Linked DNA regions of Homo sapiens: regions 1, 2 and 4 are each linked to region 3. Evidence: promoter capture Hi-C in human tissues and cell types (Jung and others, 2019). All regions are on one chromosome and are shown on one strand. Each heading gives the region's core, a stretch centred on a gene start or on the middle of the fragment in contact. The rest is flanking DNA. Distances are from core to core; before and after follow the strand shown.

What was found. The method cuts DNA at HindIII sites, captures the fragments that hold promoters and counts their contacts. A contact is called where the count stands out against the background at its distance.
Region 1: a fragment that was not itself captured here is called in contact with the fragment with the promoter of DSTN in region 3 in 2 of the 25 tissues and cell types used here (heart left ventricle and mesendoderm cells).
Region 2: a fragment that was not itself captured here is called in contact with the fragment with the promoter of DSTN in region 3 in 1 of the 25 tissues and cell types used here (dorsolateral prefrontal cortex).
Region 4: a contact is called between a fragment that was not itself captured here and the fragment with the promoter of DSTN in region 3, in 1 of the 25 tissues and cell types used here (lymphoblastoid cells).

Annotation. Positions count from the first base shown.
Region 1 is chr20:16,798,108-16,801,322 of GRCh38, reverse strand. No RefSeq gene overlaps it. Among named protein-coding and RNA genes, the nearest start is that of OTOR, 51 kb to the right of the region's middle. The HindIII fragment of the contact is 3,462 bases long and covers 213-3,215 here.
Region 2 is chr20:16,716,748-16,719,994 of GRCh38, reverse strand. No RefSeq gene overlaps it. Among named protein-coding and RNA genes, the nearest start is that of SNRPB2, 12 kb to the left of the region's middle. The HindIII fragment of the contact is 3,736 bases long and covers 1-3,239 here.
Region 3 is chr20:17,568,742-17,572,390 of GRCh38, reverse strand. DSTN (destrin, actin depolymerizing factor) reads right to left here and starts at 2,316. Exons shown (of 4, transcript NM_006870.4): 1 at 2,180-2,316. The coding sequence starts at 2,182. It also overlaps a transcript of BFSP1 not described here. RefSeq lists silencers at 1,876-2,165, 2,186-2,375 and an enhancer at 2,786-3,353. The HindIII fragment of the contact is 11,187 bases long and covers 1,059-3,649 here.
Region 4 is chr20:18,150,669-18,154,025 of GRCh38, reverse strand. KAT14 (lysine acetyltransferase 14) reads right to left here. Exons shown (of 11, transcript NM_001392073.1): 4 at 3,084-3,205. Among named protein-coding and RNA genes, the nearest start is that of PET117, 14 kb to the right of the region's middle. The HindIII fragment of the contact is 4,437 bases long and covers 1-3,357 here.

The DNA of each region.
Region 1 (3,215 bases), core at 694-3,193, 770 kb after region 3:
GGCTAACACAGTGAAACCCCGTCTGTACTAAAAATACACACACACACACACACACACACACACACACACACACACACACACACACAAAAAGCCGGGCGTGGTGGCGGGCGCCTGTAGTCCCAGCTACTCTGGAGGCTGAGGCAGGAGAATGGCGTGAACCCGGGAGGCGGAGCTTGCAGTGAGCTGAGATTGTGCCACTGCACTCCAGCCTGGGCGACAGAGCGAGACTCTGTCTCAAAAAAAAAAAAAATGTGTGTAGTAATTTCATCACTAATCATATCAGAAAAGTCTTTAAGTGAAGAAAATGTCAAGCTCACTGTGGTGAATACACATTTCCTACAATTCTAGTTTTTGCTTGAAAGTTCGTATTTTTTCACCAAGTACCAACTGGTTTTCCTCGAAATGACACATTCATTCTGATTATTTTTTAGAAAACACCCAACACCCAAATCTGAATAACCTTACTTTATCTGTCAGTTATTTCAAGTAAAAATAGCATTCCACCAAAAAAAAAGTGATTACAACCCTCACAACCCTAACAACCAGACAAGAGTTTTTCCTCTGAATGAATGTTGTACTTTGGTGTACAGCAGAAGTGCTCTCTGCACACTTCCCATTTCATCATGCAGATAATTTAAAAGATACATATTTATGGACCAATATTTAATAAAATTAATAGCTTTTACCACTTCTTCAAGAAAATTTGTCAGTTTCACTGACAAATTTAAAACCCAGTCAAGACACCTCAACGATGAACTCTCCAAACCCTTGATTATTGTTGTATCCATTACAGTTTGGGGTAAGAACAGAACCCACCCTGCTTATTTTAAGCAGGGAAGGATTTAATACAGACATTTACAAAGTCACTGCTGAACCTAAAGGAGCACATTCTGGGCTGGGCTTCAGGAATCATCAGCTGTTGGAACATTGCAGAAGCGACCCACCAGGGAAACTACCGGCCCAGAGACCACCCCTGGAGTTCTCCCAAATTCGAGAAGCCACTGGTGTCTATGGGGCCAGAAAACTCAGTAGTCTTTTGGCAAGATGCTTCAGAATCTCCTTGTTTCCCAACAGATTCAGCCAACACGTATGCAGGAAGATGCTTTCACCTCATTCCTATGATCCAAACATCATGTGAGTCAATCTAATCACAAAGCTTAAGTTGCTTCCAGAACTCTAACGGCAAAGAAATCTGAAAAATACAGTGTTTGGCTTTCAAACCTCTCAAACTTAGAAGGAAGGTTAAACGAAGATTGAGCAAGTCAATTCATTGTTCTAGATGTACTCAACAGTAATTTTCTCACAAAAGTCAGTGGTAACAAATGGCCGATTACCACTTTTTATCCAAATGATGGAGGCTGTTTCTAGAAAATATATACAGAGATTTCTATTTTACGCTCTAACCATTGGTTTTCAGCAAACCATGCCAATTGCAGGTTGTAAACCCAGAAAGAAAGGCAGGGGAGACAGGGACTGGGCAGGTTTATCATACTCAGAGAGAATCTGACTTGTCCTGATGAGAAACCAGGACCTTTCTCCGGGCATCCCTAGGAGGGCACAATAGAGATACCACCACTATGTTCTAGTATCTCTGTTAAAGCCTCTCCTTCTGGTCCACTGAACAGTGCTTCTGTCAAGCCAGTAATTCTCAAAACTTGCTATTGTGTTAAGAATGTGGTTAAAATGCGTAGTGTCCTGAGCTTATTTTGATTTTGTATGTCCAAGAGATAATGATTCAACATACCTAAGACAGAATCTAGAATTCCTTAAAAATTTATCTTTTTAAAACATTTCTGTCTTTTTATTTATTTATGTAACAGTTTACCTCAGGACATTCAGATGTAGCTGGTTTACTGATCACAGTATGATAAACATTGTTTTAAGACATCAGGTCCTAATCTGTTCATTCAGACTTGCCAGGAGACAATTTATTAAGATGAAATAAAGTCCCTGACACCTTGTGATCAGTTAGTTGTGCCCGGAGTGGACCAACACAGCCGGAGCAACGCAGCAAGGCTGAGTGGTGGTAAATTCTTCCATCACTTTAAAGCTAAAGAAGCCATTTCCCACTGAAATCCAGCTAAAAGTCATATACTGTTCTAGTTTATCACAAAATTGTTGTTTTTGTTTTGTTTCCATTAATTCTTTTTGGTTAGATTTTATTTGGGCATATAATGTGAAACAACAATCTGCTTTCTCACCCTATGCTACTTCATTCTTGATTTGTGATGTTTCCTTTATCCTATTTTGAGCATTTTTTTTAAATTAGGGTGTCTTTTGGGACTCATTATTTTTTATTGAGCTGTTCGTCAGGGTTCCAACCAGAGAAATGCTATTCTAATCTTAATAGCTATCCAGTTTATTTTTATATTAGAAGGAGGAGCACATTATTCTCATTGTTTTGTCTCTTTAAAACTGTACTGGCTCTTTTCACTAATTGCTTCTTTTTTATTCCAGATGAGCTTGTGCAGTAAATCCATATTGATTTTTCATTCTCTTGATTTATTATTTTATATCAGGTCTAACAGACTTCTCAGGCTTTTTATTTATTCCTTCTGTCCCCTTACTTAGAATTGCTACTCATGTTATCAGATCATTGTAGGTGTGTGGTGTTATCTCTGGGTTCTCTATTCTCTTCCATTGGTCTATGTGTCTGTTTTTGTACCACTACCATGCTGTTTTGGTTACTGTAGCCCTGTAGTATAGTTTGAAGTTGGGTAGCATGATGCCTCCAGCTTTGTTCTTTTTGCTTAGGATTGTCTTGGCTATTCAGGCTCTTATTTGGTTCCGTATGAATTTTAAAATAATTTTTCCAGTTCTGTGAAGAATGTCAACAGTAAGTTTAATGGAAATAGCACAGAATCTATGAAGTGCTTTGAGAATAATGGCCATTTTCATGATATTGATTCTTTAACAATATTGATTCTTCCTATCCATGAGCATAGAATGTTTTTCCATTTGTTTGTGTCCTCTCTGATTTCTTTGAGCAGTGGTTTGTAGTTCTTCTTGTAGAGATCTTTCACTTCGCCTGTTAGCTATATTCCTTGGTGTTTTATTCTTTCTGTGGCAATTGTGAATGCGAGTTCATTTGTGATTTGGCTCTTGTCTTGACTGTTGGTGGTATAGGAATGCTAGAGATTTTTGCACATTGATTTTGTATCCTGAGACTTTGCCGGAGTTGCTTATCAGCTTAAGACACTTTTGGACTGAGACAA
Region 2 (3,247 bases), core at 122-2,621, 850 kb after region 3:
TAAAAAGTTTCGAAAATCAGGCAGCAAATCACACTTTCAGTTAAATATTTCTATTGGGGATATTTCCTTGAAGCCTATTTCATAGGTTTATTTTACATAATTATAATTCTAGTGAATACATAATTTCACATCTTGCCTTTTCACCTTCTATTACATCTAGAAATCTGGAGATTTCTTTGCACAAAAAGCTTTTTGTTTCATACCATTTTCTCTCACTCTTAGCTCCTCAGGGGTGCTCACGAAGAGATTAATGACATAAAAAAGCATACTTAGTATTTAAAGAAGCAAAAACCCACAAGAAGCAAGAAAGATGTCTTTAAGTAGTTTCAAGATTGCTTGTGGAGGAGGAATCTGGCTTGCTCTGAATGGGCCCACACCTCTGAGCTAAGAACAAGAGGTGGATGCCAGAGGGAGACAGAATTTCAGCTTTTAGAGAAGATAAAAAATTATCCAGGCTTCCCAAGGATAGTGAATCTCTGTTACTGGAGGTGTTCAGGTGAACTGGGAAGGACCACCTACCAGAGACACCTCTGCAGGTATCTAAGCATAGATGTAGGGCAGGAAGAAATGGCATCTCAGAGACCTGGCATTCAGCTTGTTGGGCTGATCTAGTTTTACATTGCTGTGAACAAATCATCTTAAAAATCAGTGATTCAAAATTATAATAATCATTTTATATTATCTTTCATTGTTCTGGGAGTTTTGGTTTTTTTCTTCTTCTTCTTTTTTTTTTTTTGATACAGGGCCTCCCTCTGTCACCCAGGCTAGAGCGCAGTAGCGTAATCATGGCTCACTGCAGCCTTGACCTCCTGGGATCAAAGGAAACTCCAACCTTAGCTTCCTGAGTAGCTGGGACCACAGGCACACACCATCACACCTGGCTAATTTTCTTAATTTTTTGTAGAGACGGAGTCTCATCATGTTGCCCAGGCTGGTCTCAAACACCTGGGCTCAAGCATTCTCCCCATCGGCCTCCTACAGTGCTGGGATTACAGGCATAAGCCACCACACCTGACCATAGTTCTGAAGGTTGACTGGGCTCAGCTAGGTGGTTGGTGCTCAGGATCTCTCATGTCAGACAGTGGCTGGGGTTAGGATCATCTTGACTTCCTCACTCCTATGTTTGGTATCTGAGCCATCAATATTTAAACAGATTGGAGCAGTTGAATTTCATGGGCATCTTTACTTCTGTGTGGTCTTTCTAGTATGGTGACTTTATGGTAGCAGGCTTCTTACAGGGTTAGAAACATACCTGTTCCTAGACACAGAGCTAGGCAGAAGTTGTATTGTCTTTTATGACCCAGTCTTGAAAGTCATGTAGTATCTCCTCTGCTGTCTTCTATTAATTGAGATAGTCACAAAGACCTTCCTAGGTTGAAAGGGAGGGGACGTAGATTCTAGTCTTGATGAGGGAAGTAGAACATTTCTGGAAGTTTGCGTGGGACCAGAGATATTCTTATAGCCACTTTTAGAAAATATCATCTGTTTCATGGGCTTTCTAGAGGAATGGCTTTTTCACACTTCTTCATGGGTGGGGGTCACCATGACTTTCCTCAAGGTGCCTCGAGCCTTTTGTTCCATGGATGCCTCTGATATACAGGCCATAACAGAGTCTGCAGTTTTTATGTGAAGAGAGACATTAATACATCTTATTTTCCCCACAGTCTTGCGATCAACCCAGAACTGAAGGGAAGGGGAATAAACTGGACAAGCCTGATAGTTACAGTCACAAATAGTGGAGGAAGCCAAGCACAGAGGTAGACTGCACATCCCTCTCCACTGGGGATCCCGTGAAGAAGAAAACGCCATCAGAATCCATGGACTTCTTAATCTTTAGATCGAGAAAGTATGGATTCTACATTTCTATCCATCTACATCAGTGGGGAGCTGTGTTCAACTACTAGCAACAGAGACTCATTTGCAGTGGCTGAAACTCACAAAGGATTATTATGTAAAAGACACCTGAAGATCAGCAGTTCAAGGCTGTTCCACAAAGTCTTCATGGACTGAGAGAACTTCTACTTTTCCGTTTTATTTTCTTGGTCTATTTTTCTGCTTTCATTCAAAAGGTGACTTCACAGTCCCAAATGGCTGCTGAAGTTCCAGGCAGGAAGGAAGGAGAATGGCTTTGCCCACTGTCTTTTTTTTTTTTCTTTTTTTTAGAAACAGGGTCTTGCTCTGTCACCGAGGCTGCAATAATAGCTCACTGCAGCCTTGAACTCCTGGGCTCAGGTGTTCCTCCTCAGCCTCCCAAGTAGCTAGGACTACAGGCGTATGCCACCATGTCCAGCTAATTTTTGTATTTCTTTTTCTGTTTTGTAGAGACGAGGTCTCCTTCTGTTGCCCAGGCTAGTCTCAAACTCCTGGCCTGAAGCAATCCTCTTGCCTCAGCCTCCCAAAATGTTGGGATTACAGGTGTGAGCCACTGTGCCTAGCCCCCACTCTTTTAGGTAGGCTTCAAAACTATACTTCCATCTGTATTACTTTGGCTAGAACTCAGTTACATGGGCTCACCAAGTTTAAAAAACAAAAAGGCCAGGAAATGTAGTTTCTTGGCAGGAGATGTTGCCCAAGATTTTGCTATCTGAAGGCGAAGAGTAAAAATTAATATTTGGAAGCAAGAAGCCCTCTCTGTCAAATTTACTACTTAAGAGATTTTTAAAATATTTACCCACCAAGTTACATGGATCATAAAGACCTTTCTAGTGATATATAATTTCAACATTTGTCCTTTTTAATTGCCTACAAGAAATGTGAAATTTACTTCAATATTTTGAAATCAGAGGTGGGAAGCAGATTTTGTAGAATCCATTTCTCCACCCTAAACAGTTGACAGCACACAAACCATGTTTTCAACCTCCCCTAATTTCAAAGCACAATTCACTCTCTTGACATAATCACTAAAGTTACAGCTAATGTAAGAGGTAAGAGGATGATTAGAAACTTCAAGAGGTTCTGAAACATTCAATGTAACTTGTATTTCTGATGTTAAGTGACAAAGCCAGCAATTTAGGCCATTGTCAATATTAAGATATTTGCTCAGTGTCATATACATAGCAATGTGCATGACAAAAAAATGTTTTGAAATATTTCAGTTTTCTTCATCTTACACTCAAACAGCTCAGCAAAGTTCCATTTCTTTCTTGAGGCTTTTCCCAGTGCCAATGTTCTGCCATCTCTCATTTCTTTGTACTCGGGGACTGATTCCACTGTTTGCATTTTACCCTTAGTACCAACATTTCAGAAA
Region 3 (3,649 bases), core at 1,067-3,566:
CTACTAAACAATCTCTGTATAAGGAGGCTGGCACACCCAGTACACACACACACACGTTTTGTTTGGGGTCTGTAATTGTGGTTCACGTGGAGGCAGACGTTGTTTGTTTTTTGTTGGAGGAGACATCTGAAAACATCTAATCTCATCCTGAAGCGCCCAGCTGGTTTCAAACTGCTTTATTTCAGGTGCTTCTAAAAGACTTGGTGAGTACAAGGAAGTGATTCTGCTAATTTAGAACAAACCCATCGGTAGTTAAAATTTAATCTTAAAAGAAACTTGGAACCAAGCATCTAACCAAAAGAGCTAAAAGCAAAGTGCTAGACTCTGGGATAATACCCACAATATTCTCTAATCACTGAACTAAACAAAGATGCTCCTGCGCTCATAAGGCTAAAAACAAAAATAACCTTTAAAAATGGGGGGTCTATAATCTGAACTCTAAGAGTAACTTGTAAGGTCTTCTTGATCTCCCTAAAGCCAACAATTTTGAAGCGTATTTGGAAATCGCTCATTTCTAATTTTTATTTCTCCCACTCCTCACAAGAACCAGGAAATATAACAGACCCTTCCTTCCTTGAATTTAGTTAAGCTTTAACTAAAACTAAGCATTTAACTAAAGGTAAAATGTTTGGTCTCTTATTTTCAAACAGAAAAATAAAGTCTGTATTAGCCACTCAATAAAAAAGCATAATGTCAAATCAGAAGTCTCTAGAGCAGACCCTAGTCAGCTTCAAAGCACTTTCACAGAGTGAATGGTCTTAAGCGTACCATAACTCAAAGCCCCTAGATTAAGTCTTTCAGTATAAAGTAGCATATACATTTAAAATGTTATTAAATTTCTAATAATTAGATATTAAAAAGACTCAAGATGCTGATACTTTGTAGCTTACAGCATTAAACCAAAGAAGAACCAAAAACTGAACAGTATCAAATCCCTATTACATACATATCTACAGTCATCAAGAAACTACCGGTTTATCTTTTCTTTCACTAAGGGGCCGCCTGCATGTTCACGGAAGTTGTAGTAACTTAAGAAAACCAAAACTGTTATACAGTGAAAACAGTTTGTATGCAGATAAGCTGGTACCAACTGCTTCTAGACAGATGCAATTACAGTGTAATATTTCTAGCAAAGTCTGGTAAGGCTACGCCTGCAAATCACTGACCAAAAATGGTAACAGTGTGTGCACACTAACGAAAACGACAAAATGTTCCAACTGATAGTTCAGTTGAGAATACGTTTTTAAATAGCTAATTAGAGTGACAGTGTAAAGGGGGAAAATATGTAAATTAAGCAAAATGTCCATCATATAGAATATACTAATGAGCACCTGTTTACTTTCTGGTGACTCCAGTATTTTAATGGTTTTTAAAGCTCTTAAATTTGGTTGTATCAGCATCCCAGCATCATGCCCACACCTTGCGCACCAAGTTCTGGCAGAGTCCAACTGTCTACAGGTCAGAAAAAAAATTCTAACCATACACGGACAGATCGGGCAGGGAAGGGTTAAAACAGACACTGCCAAGCTTGACAAGCACGACGAGAGTGCTGCTGGAAGCCGATTGCCAGATAAAAAGAAAAAAACAAAGGAGCTGCAAGGCCACCCCGTTCTAAATCATGCCAGGATCCTGCTCGTTAGCGATCATTCCGTGCTCTAGGACTGTTCCATAAAGGCTTTATCTTCCTTATTGAGATGGACAGACCTCAAGGGCTGGAACGCGCACAAGTCACCAAGCGCCTCAGCGCCAGCTCTGGGGAAACCCACGCCAACAAGGACGGTGGCCGGATTCCGACGCCCCCCGCCCCCCACTCCCCGGCCTCGGTGTGCAGACCCCCGGATGGATTTCACAGAGCGGGTGGGGGCGCTCGACCCCAGCCAGTTGTTGCAAGGCCGGGTCTGGAGACACCCGCAGAGGCCACGCTCAGGGCGGCGGCCTCGCCCCAGCTGGGAGCTGCGCAACAGCCGCGGATCCACCCCGGGGCGCGGGGGCCCAGCCAGGACGGCGGGAGACGGAGGCCCAGAGACCCCCCCTCACCCGCAGCCCGGACACTGCAGCCGGACCGGGTCCCTCCCCGGGCTGAGGCACGGCTCACCCCCTTAGCCCCGACTCCGCGGCGCCCCAGAGACACACTGCTCCCGGCCGCCTCGGCCCACGCCTCGGCCTCCCTCCTACTCACCATCTTCGCCGCGGCGGTCGCAGGGACGCGGGGGAGGGAGCCGGCGGGCAGCGAGTATGCAGACCGTCCTCCTCACGGCTGCGGGACCGAGAGACCCAGCGCTGAGCTGACGCGGCGGCGCGAGCTTACCCCGGGGCGGGCGCGCCTCAGGACGGAACGCGGCTGCGCACGTCACGCACCGCCTGCCGTTGCTACGCAACCAGCCGGCCAGGCAACGCCCCCCCGGCGGCTATCCAGAGTCTCGGAGGGGAGCTTCCCTCATCTGCTGAAGGCTGCGGGGCAGGGTCCGCCTCACCAGAAAGTGTTTAGGGGTGGGGGTGCGTCCTCTCTGGTCTGCAGGAGGCTAGAAGGCGGACTGGGCTGGCTCCTGCTGGCGAGGGGCGGGCAAAAGATGATGGGGGAGGGGTGGCCTTCCTTCGCCTCCTCGGCGGGGCCACCTGACGCCCCACCCACTGTGCAGGCATGGCCCGCGCGGGGAGGCAGCCACCTGGCCAGGTGTGCCTGCCGCTGGGGCGGGGCGAGGCCGTGGAGGGGAAAAGGAGGGGAGAGCCGGGGGAGAGGGGTACAGAGTGTGGGAAGGAGGGGGATTTGGAGGGGAGAGGCGAGGGGCACATAGTTGGGGGAGGAGGAGGATGGAGAGGGGAGGGAAGAGGTGAGGGAGAGGGGACAGTGTGGGGAGAGGAGGGGGATGTGGGGGGAGGGGCGAGGGGGCACTTAGTGGGGGAGGTGGGGGCAAGGGGAGAGGTGAGGGAGAGGGACACAGTGGTGGAAGGAGAGAGATGTTGGGGGTTGGGAGGGCAGGGCCCGAGGAGGGGGAACGCACTGGGGGAGGACCCACGGGAGCGGAGTCGCGGGCCGCGGCAGCGGGGACGCCTCCCGCATTTTTTACCTACTTTGGTGCGATTCCCGCCGCCCTCCCCTGATTGGCCCAGTCTGGCTTGTCCTGCCCTCGCGTGAGGGGAAAAAAGTCTGCACATTTTTCCTCCTTCCCGAGGCGACCGTGGCCATGCAGAGTGCTCTGTGAGTCACCGTTAATTTCAGGTCTGGAAAAACAAGGAGCATTTATTTATCTTTGGGAACTGCCGGGGAAGGAGGCCGGCGGCGCGCAGGGGTGTGGCTGGGAAAGGCCGCGCTGTCCCGGGACGGTGGCGCCAGCCCCGCCGCTCAGTTCTCCGGGTTTTTAATTTGGAATTGTGTTTTTCTAATGGGCGGTTGCGTCGGAAACACGGTTTTCAGAGGGCCCAGATGAATCCCAGCGTTTTTGCTGCGGGTGTTTTTGTGGGAAATAAAGGGAACAAAGAATTTTATAAATTAATTTAGGTTACCGAGAACATCATGGCCTCGACCAAAACTATTTTAATTCTCCAAATATGAGACTTTTGGACAAGATGGTCAGTATTTTTTTTTCCGGCACTACGTAAAATCTAGGTTGTATGTGGCTTTTGTTCTGCCCCACTCAACATAGGAACC
Region 4 (3,357 bases), core at 664-3,163, 580 kb before region 3:
TTTGCTTCTTCTGGTTAGATCAAAAGAAAGTTTACTGCTTTAAATTCTCATTAACACTTGTAGCAGCCTCCCTTTTTGACTGGAAAAGAAAGCCATGGCTTGCCATTATATGCCATGGGATCCAGCTACAATTTAACAGCATTGTTTTATTTTTATTGTTACATTCTACTTATGACAATTTATATAGGTTTCCCACTTACCATGGTGATGTTAAGTTTCTTTTTAAAATTAATGTATTTTTCAGGTGACTTGATTTAAATAGGAAGATCAAATAAATAATAATTCCGGTGATATACCAATATGGCCAACACACTAAATAAACTACACAGAAACTGGAGAGTAATTAATGCCTTTCATTGGCATGTTAAAAAGAAATAAGGCTCAGCTGATTCCTCTCAGAACATGCTCTAGAAATGAACAAATGAAGCATTTAAACAACTTCTGTTAAAATCCAGCAATATTTTTAAAAACAGGCAATCTAAATCTAATTTTTTCCAGGAGATAACCCACTAAATAGGACAGCACTCGAAGATCATGAAAACATTCCAAGATCCAATTTTATCAGTTTTTTCCCTTTCTTATCCCTTATAAATGGGGTACATTAAGGTCCATAAATAGTGCTAAATCATTAAACTAAACAACAGATTTCTTTTCCTTATGAGAAAGAACCAGTTATAGTGTCGATTCTTTTCTTAGCACCAATAAATAGCTCAAGAACTAAAATAACCCCTTTTGCAAAAATGTAGGGAGTCTATTCCATTTTCTCACAGCAGCCTGCAGGTCACCCTCCTTCTGACTACCCTCCCGTACTCTCAGTAACATGAGCAAAGCTGTGATTCCTCAGCTTCTGAAGAAACAGAGGCTGCAGTGAACCCCAAGTGAGGAAAGGCATGAACTCCCTGCCCTGACCTGAAGTGATCAAAGACTTTGTCATGTCTAAACTAACCTCATTATGTAAGATTCATGAATCTCACACAGGACTTCAGACAGCAACTAACAATCAGAATCTCAAACAAAAATTCACCAGTGTGGTAGCAAACTCACAAGTACCCAAGAGCAATAAAAGTCTTGATAGATCCACGTGGACATTTAGTGAAAATATATGGTCGCAAGGTCTGTGCATCGGCATCCCCGAGTCTAATGCACCAAAGCAGCCACTGGGGAGAGCACACAGCAGCAAACTCAAAGCGCAATGATAAACACAGTGACCAATGAACAAGCCACATGCAGATGTGCCCAGACTTTGCTAAGCACTATGAAAAATAGTTAAAAATAAAAAAGAGTGTCTACTTTACAGAGTTAAAAACAAATACTAGTAATACAAAACTCTATTAACTAAGGGCAACCTAAATAGATGCAGTCAGTAACTGCCATTATTTTTCCTGTCTTGTCCTCCTAGAAGGCACTGCTCTGTTTTGGTTCTTTTTTTGGTTGGTTGTTTGTTTGTTTGAGATGGAGTCTCGCTGAGTCACCCAGGCTGGAGTGAAGTGGCCCCATCTCAGCTCACTGTAACCTCCGCCTCCCAGGTTCAAGCGATTCTCCTGCTTCAGCCTCCCGAGTAGCTGGGATTACGGGCACCCGCCACCAAGCCCAGCTAATTTCTGTATTTTTAGTAGAGATGGGGTTTCACCATGTTGGCCAGGCTGGTCTCGAACTCCAGACCTCAGGTGATCTGCTCGCCTCGGCCTCCCAAAATGCTGGGATTACAGGCCTGAGCTACCGGGCCCAGCCTGGTTGGTGTTTTCTAAGAGATGGGGGTCTCACTATACTGTCCAGGCTGGCTTCAAACTCCTGGGCTCGAGTGATCCTCCAACCTTGGTCTCCTGAGTAGCTGGGACAACAGGCATGCCCCACCACACACAGCTTAAAAGAATATAATAACCCTATCTCCTCAAGTGAAATATTGACTTATCCAACTCTTGAACAGTCTCATGTAATACAACTCTTATTTTTTAACATTCTAAGAATTTCTTCAAAAAACGTCATGTTCAGTTGAAACAAACATCTTTTTTTTTTTTTTTTTGAGATGGAGTCTCACTCTGTTGCCCAGGCTGGAGTGCAATGGCGCAATCTTGGCTCACTGCAACCTCCACCTCCTGGGTTCAAGCAATTCTCCTGCCTCAGCCTCCTCAGTAGCTGGGATTATAGTTGCCTGCCACCACGCCCAGCTAATTTTTGTATTTTAGTAGAGATGGGGTTTCACCATGTTGGCGAGGCTGGTCTTGAACTCCTGACCTCAGGTGATCCACCCACCTCGGCCTCCCAAAGTGCTGGGATTACAGGCATGAGCCACTGCGCCCAGCCAAGTTTTTTTTTTAATCTTAAAAAAGTAAAAATATTCTCTGGAATTCAAAAATTTTCGTAATTGCCACAAGTAAACACTCTAAATCTCTAACAAGGTAAGGAACGGTGATTCACACCCACCATAATCCCAGCACTTTGGAAGGCTAAGGCAGGAGAGCTGTTTGAGCCCAGGAGTTCAAAACCAGCCTGAGACAACACGAGACCCCTGTCTCTACAAAAATATAAGGCCAGGCGCAGTGGCTCACGCCTGTAATCCAAGCACTTTGGGAAGCCGAGGCAGACAGATCACTTGTGGTCAGGAGTTCAAGACCAGCCTGGCCAACATGGTGAAACCCCGTCTCTACTAAAAATACAAAAATTAGCTGGGCATAGTGGCAGGTGCCTGTAATCCCAGCTACTCAGGAGGCTAAGGCAGGAGAATCGCTTGAACCCGGGAGGTGGCGGTTGCAGTGTGCCGAGATCACGCCACTGCACTCTAGCCTGGGGGAGAGAGCAAGACTCTGCCTCCAAAAAATAAATAAATAAATAAATAAGCCAGGCATGTTGGTGCACACCTGTAATCCCAGCTACTCAGGAGGCTGATGCAGGAGGACTACTTGAGCCCAGGAGGTTGAGGATGCAGTGAGCTATGGTCATGCCACTGCACTCCAGCCTGGGAGACTCTATCTCAAAAAAATTAAAATAAATCTCTAACAAGTCTACATTAGGCTGTCTCAAATCCTGTATACTTCATTCTTTACATATTCCTTGAAGTATAAGATTTTTTAAAAACACATTACCTATTCCCTAGTAAAAAAGTCCAATGTTTCTCAATAAAAGCACAGATATCTTCTTTCCACCTGAAATAACCTTGACGTCCACTTCCTTCCAGAGACAAGTTGTACATTGCCAACATGACGACCTGAAACACAATTGAAACAAGAGGTGGGAGAACAGCACGGTTAGGGATGTTAATCTTGAGGGGGGAAAAGCTTCTTCTGTTTTATATTCTGAGTAGGAATGGTGGGGAACAGAGCGAACAAAGGACGGACGGTATCTTGGAATATTCCCAGG